2 separate regions of the Homo sapiens genome follow, and region 1 is linked to region 2. The links are contacts of gene promoters, found by promoter capture Hi-C in human tissues and cell types (Jung and others, 2019). All regions are on one chromosome and are shown on one strand. The core of a region is centred on a gene start or on the middle of the fragment in contact, and the rest is flanking DNA. Distances in the headings are between cores, read along the strand shown.

Region 1 (3,094 bases), core at 426-2,925, 390 kb after region 2:
CCCTTTTTATTTTGAAATGTCCAAGTCCTCTTGATTTCTGTCCCCACTTTTGTTTTATGGTGCATAGGAATGTTTTTGTTAGTCTCCTTGAATGTGAACGTAGGTAAGTCCTTTTCAGGAAATTGCTCAATTCTTTGGAGCCTGCCCGTGGTGTGCTTGCATTTACAGAATCTGTCAGCTCCCTTCTGAGGGTGTTAGTCTCAGGGCAGCTTATCTTGTCTGGGGGTCTTTGGTGTGTCTTCCTTCCTTTCCTTGTTCTCGCCCACGTTGGGGGTTTTATTATGAACTGCAGTGGTCCCCAGGGCTTCCCAGCTGGAGACCAGGAGTTGGCAGGGCAGAGGCTCCGTCCCTCTGGGTGGCGCAGCCTCTCTCGGTGGTGCTGTCCCTGATCCCGTCGGTGCTCGAGCTCAGCCCCAGGGTCTCTACCTGCGGCCCACGTGGCTCAGGGGAACCATCACCTCGACACTCACTCGTCTCCTCTGCGTCCTTTCTCTGTACGGGGTTGCTTGCTGCCATGTTTGGAGCCACAAGCTCTGTGTGCTTCCTATAATGGGCAGCTGACCCGAGTGCCAGGCTCTACTCCTGCCATCTTCCTTGTCACCACCATCGCCCCGGGCCCCCGAGCTCCCGGTGCAGTTCCAACAAAGCCTGTGGGGTCCAGCTGGAGCTCCACCTCTGCTCCCACTTCTGGGCCCCTGGTCCCATCCTCGCCGGCCTGAACTGACTGTGGAGACCGCCCTGGCACTGGGAGCGACACGGCCTGCCGACTCTGGACCCAGCAGCCGAGGGACTCCCTCAAGGACGGGACTGTGGGGGGCCGCCCTGGCACTGGGAGTGACGCAGCCTGCCAACTCTGGACCCAGCAGCCGAGGAACTCCCTTAAGGATGGGACTGACTGTGGGGGCTGCCCTGGCACTGGGAGCGACGCAGCCTGCCGACTCTGGACCCAGCAGCTGAGGAACTCCCTCAAGGACGGGACTGACTGGGGGGGCTGCCCTGGCACTGGGAGTGACGTGGCCTACTGACCCTGGACCCAGACGGCAGGCCCTGCATGCTGCCAGCCCCGGCACATGTGCCAGGCATCTCCCTGGAGGTCATGGAGGACAGGGCAGTGTGACAAAGTCTGGCACCAGCACATGACCTCAGACGCACATGTCACCTGTCAGCAGTGACTGCAACATTCACTCCAGTAGGACCACTGTGCCAGCAATAACAGCGTCACCCGTCAGCAGTGACCATGAGGTCCACTCCACTGTGCCAGCAGTGCCCACAGTCTCCCTCCCTGCAGACAGAGACTGGACAACAATGTGCTGTTGCCAACTGTTTATTCAGGGCCCTGAACGGGTGGTGCGTGGACATGCAACACACTCGGGCCCACAGCAGCGTGACCGGCCGCTCCCAAGCCCCGGGCGCACAACCACAGCCAGGAGCAGCCCCTGCCACCACTGGGCCACCGTCCAGGGCCCCACAGGACCAGCCGAAGGTGCCCCGGGCCGAGGCCAGCTGGGTCAGGTGTACCCCTAGCCTGGGGTTGAGTGAGGAGCGGCACCCCCAGTATCCTGTGTACCCCAAGTTGCCCAGGAGGCCGAGGGGGCCTTGGGCTCCATCTGCACTGGCCACCCCGTGCCAAGCATCACAGCTGCGTGAGCAGGTTTGTGTGTGAGCGTGTGGCGGGGCCTGGTTGTCCCCTTCCTAAGGCGTAACTGCTATAAGCATCTCCACCTCTCCCGCTCGGGAAAAAGCCACAGAGCCTGGCGATGTCCTCAAGGGGTCCCGGTGGCTCCAGTGCACCCAGCACACCTCAGCGCCTCTGGCTGGCAAGCCAGGAGAAGAAGGTGCGAGGCCGTGGGCGAGGTGCCTGGAGGACGCGCATGGTGCGTGGGGAGCGCCAGGCTTTGATGGTGGCGTCGTCGCTGGCCGTGAGCAGCAGCTCCTGCTCCTGGGGACTGAAGACCACTGAGTTGACCACATCCTCGTGCCGCAGCCTGGCCAGACAGATGTTGTAGTGGCGGTCCCAGATGTAGCCGTGCCGGTCCTCCGCCCCGCTGCAGAACAGCGCCTGGGTGAGCCGGCCGCCCGCCCGCTGCTGCCCACACCCGCCCTGCACCACGCCGCGCCCTGCACCTGGCCACGAAGTCCCTGCTGACGTCCAGGAAGATGAAGAAGCACTCGTCGTTGGGCGTGTAGGCGCGGTGCGCACGCAGAGCCCGCCTCACCTCCCGCATGGTCTTGAGGTCGAACACCAGCAGGTCAATCTCCTCCGCGATTGGTGGCGGCTGCATGGGGTCGGCCACCACCGCACCGTTGGGCCAGGCGCGGCTGTTCACGTACAGGTACCTGGGCGAGGGGCACTGTGCTAGGTGTGGGCCGCCTGCGGGCACCCCGCCTGGGACACTGGCAAGAGGCCCACCTGTTGTCGGGCGACAGGCCCATGCCGATGATGTGTCCGTGTATGTCTATGACGTGGTCCAGCGCGTCGAAGAAGGCATCGGAGCCCCGGCCCTCACCCAGCACGGGCCCTGCCGTGGTCATCTGGTGTGGCAGGATCTGCTTGATGCCTGCAGGGAGGGCTACGGTGAGGGTCCCTGTCCAATGCCCCAAGGACATCACTCCAGGGCAGCTTCCTACCTCAGTGGTGTCTCTGGGGCTGTGAGCACCACAGAGGTCCGTGGGCACTGCCTGCTCCGGGGGCCCCAGACCTGAATCAGGCCCGTCGGTTGCTTGCTGGCCAGCGGCCCTGCCTGCGTTTGTTTTCACTGCTCATCCCACAGGCCCCAGGTCTGGGCTTGTGACCCCAGGGGCGAGTGAACGATCCCAGCTTTGCCTGTGGACTTGCTTGCTGTCTGCCCCTCAGGACCCCTGCCCGGCCTCCCCCAAGCTCCTAGGACCGAGGCGGGCAGCATGGCGGCAGGGGTGTACCGATCTGGTGTGGGGAGTAGGTGAGGCAGCCAGTGGTGAAGATGAGGTACTTGCTCTTGGCGCCTGTGGCACTGCGCTCGGGTGGCTTGGTGTGGCCCTGGGCCAGCAGCTCGGCCACCTTGGTCTCTAGCATGCGCTCCGACAGCTGTGGCTGCGCCCGCCCCTCCAGCACGCG
Region 2 (2,784 bases), core at 147-2,646:
TCCGCCTCAGAATCAGAGCGGCCCATTGTGGAGTCGGGGCCGCCTCCAGGGGCACCGGGACAGCACCCTGGGGACGCGGCCCCGCCTCCGCCGACACCCAATACCTGCCTCCGCGGGCGCGCATCTCCAGGGCAGCCCCCATACACCCACAGGAGGGGGATGAAGGTCCCCCATTCGGAAGGAATTCGACCCCATCTCGAGAAGGGATCAATTACTCAAGCCCCTCCCTCCCCATCTTACCGGGGCTGAGAAACGGGGGAGGGGGGTGTGACACAGAGCCGCACTTTCTGGAAGAGGACAGATAATTCTCGCCTCCAACTCTCGGAGAAAGAGTGGATTAATCACTCGATTCCCCAGAGACCCCGCTCGCTGTGCGGCGGGGAGAAATGTAAGAGCCCCCCACCCGCGTCCCGCTCTCCGCCCCCAAGCTTTCCAAACTTCAACTCCGCAAAGCAAAAGGAAAGTTCAGTCCCCCCGGGCGCGGCGGCTTCTTACGCAACCCCTCCCCCAAACTGAGAGCCGGGCTGGGGGGCACCGGCGGGCGGGGCGACCGGGAGCCCGGGGACCCAGCCCGGCCGCGCGGGTCAGTGAAGGCGAACGCGGCGCCGCAGAGCCCACACTCCGCGCCCCAACATCCGCCCCGGCGTGGGCCAGAGGCGAAGAAGAAAGAAGATAAATGGCCCGGAGAAGCAACAGGAAACCAAAACCGACTCTATTCAAATCGAAAAATAGTAGGCAGCCCGCCCGCCCGGCCGACCGGCGGCAAGCCCCACGCGCGGCGGGTGAAGGGCGGGCCCGGAGTAGGGCCTCCGGGGCCCCAGCACCCCACACCGGCCTCCTAACTCGGCTCCAGGCACGGGCGGCGCGAGTCCGCCTCCACGGGGGGATCGAGGGGGAAGGTCGGTCCTCCCTGATCCCGGGACTCCAGAACCCCACGCCCCGGGCCGCCCGCTTTTCCCTCTCCATGCTGGCCTCCCCGCCGCCCGCTCCCAGCCGTGGGGCGCGCGCGCCGGGCGCCGCCAAAGTTTCCAAAGGGCGCGGAAAGTGGGGGCTCGCGGGTGGGTGGGCGCCTACCTCGTGCGGCGAGCGCGGGCAGCAGCGCCAGGCAGAGCAGGGGCGCCAGGAGCGGCGGCATGCCTCCCCACCGGCTGCCCTCTGCGCCCGGGCGGCGGCCTCCTGCGCTGGCCGGCGGGGCTGGGACGCACACGCGCGGCGTACGGTCCCGGGGCGGCGGCGGACGGTCCCGCCCTCTCTTCCCCGGCTGGCTGGCGGCGCTGTGCTCTCGCAGGCCCCCGGGCCCGGCTCCGCGCCCGGCTCGTTCCTTCGCTGCGCTCGCGCCCGCGCCCGCGCCCCGCGCCCCGCGCCCTTGCGCTCCCTCCCGCGGCCGAGGCACTAGTGAGGCTCAGAGTCGAGGTGCGCTCCGCCCCCGCCGGCCCCGCCCCGCCCGGCCCCACCCCCGCCGGTCCCCCCGCCCCCTCCGCGGCCACCTCCTCCCGCACGCCCCGTCCGCCTTTGCGCCTCCCCGAGCTGAGCCGCGCGTCCCGAGCCCAGCCTCTCCGGGGAGGAGGGACCCGGCGGCGCGGCGTGGGTCGGGAGCGGGCGCCTGGGACTACTTCTCGTTTGAAAGTTTTCAGAGGCCAAAAGTTTGAGCCGGGGCTGCGGAAGGATCCGGCTCTGGCGGTTGCCGCGCTCGGCGACAACTGGCGACTGAAATTTGCATGTGAATAAGCGGAGGAGCCCGGGGCGGAATGGGGAGGGCGAGGCCGCGGACAGCCGTGTGCACCGTGCGCTGGGCCGGGCGGGGAGCAGCTGAGGCCACGTTGGGGGACCCCGGGCCCGGGGCAGGGCTCTGGGAGAGTGGCCTAGCCGTGTGTGCGCCCCTAGCCCAGCGGCTTCACTCCCTCCCGAGGGCCCCGTGGCCGCGGCTTTAGGCGTCCAGAGGATCGATCGCCGCCAGACATCCCTGGCCGTGATTGCCCGAGCACTTGACCGCGAGGGATGGGGGCGCCGCGGCCTCTGGGCAGGGGACTCCGGGCGCCCCGAGGGAGCAGCCGGGACCAGTGCCTCGCGGACGGATTGTGCCCCGCTCCCCCAAGGGGGACCCGCGTCGACACGCTCCTCGGTCACCGTCCTCCTCCTGCCCGGGCGCCGCCTGCCTAAGGTGGCCCCAGAAAGCACAAACGGGTCGGGCGGATCTGCCGCTGGCGCCGGCGCAGCCCTTCCCACGTGCTCCTTCCGGCTGATTTATTTCTCCACCACGATGCCAGGCACGGGCACCCTGTGCCAAGCCTGGTTAAGCGCCAGGAGTCCAAAATGCCTGCCATAGTCCCTGCGCAAAGTTCACGGCCTCGTGCCAGGGACAGACAGCGCCCCCTCCCCACCCCAACACAGGGTGGTGAGTGCGATGGCAGAAGGCGCGTGTCCCGGCGCCCCTCCTGGAGTAGGAGGGCTAAGCCTGCCCTGCGGGGAGACCGAAAGGCTGGGAGGGACCTAGGACTGTGGGGGCCTGGGGGGAGGGCTGCAGAAACCCCAGAGCATGGTGGCAGAGGCAGGCACAGAAAGCAGGACAAATCTCACACCTGACCCCAGCAAGCCTTTCCTGGCACACCTCTTGCCAAATGCTGAGCACTCTGGAAACAGCCAGTGCAGGCGGCCTGTCCCGCCCCTGTAGCTGCTGCTGGGAGCCTCCCTCGCCTGCGTCCTCCCAGAATCTGGCCTCACTTCTGCAGGCCTGGGGTAACATCTTGGGGTCAGCGCCCCAGGAGAGGAGGCGCCTGGAGGCAG

What was found. The method cuts DNA at HindIII sites, captures the fragments that hold promoters and counts their contacts. A contact is called where the count stands out against the background at its distance.
Region 1: a contact is called between a fragment that was not itself captured here and the fragment with the promoter of NOTCH1 in region 2, in 1 of the 25 tissues and cell types used here (lymphoblastoid cells).

What each region holds. Positions count from the first base shown.
Region 1 is chr9:136,939,127-136,942,220 of GRCh38, forward strand. FBXW5 (F-box and WD repeat domain containing 5) reads right to left here. Exons shown (of 9, transcript NM_018998.4): 6 at 2,920-3,094; 7 at 2,411-2,558; 8 at 2,125-2,337; 9 at 1,309-2,045. The coding sequence ends at 1,802. Among named protein-coding and RNA genes, the nearest start is that of FBXW5, 4.1 kb to the right of the region's middle. The HindIII fragment of the contact is 5,626 bases long and covers 1-3,094 here.
Region 2 is chr9:136,544,652-136,547,435 of GRCh38, forward strand. NOTCH1 (notch receptor 1) reads right to left here and starts at 1,397. Exons shown (of 34, transcript NM_017617.5): 1 at 1,075-1,397. The coding sequence starts at 1,135. It overlaps MIR4674 (microRNA 4674), which reads right to left and starts at 1,608; the gene lies at 1,522-1,608. RefSeq lists enhancers at 232-281, 2,254-2,784 and silencers at 512-561, 782-1,041, 1,062-1,621, 1,962-2,061. The HindIII fragment of the contact is 7,823 bases long and covers 1-2,784 here.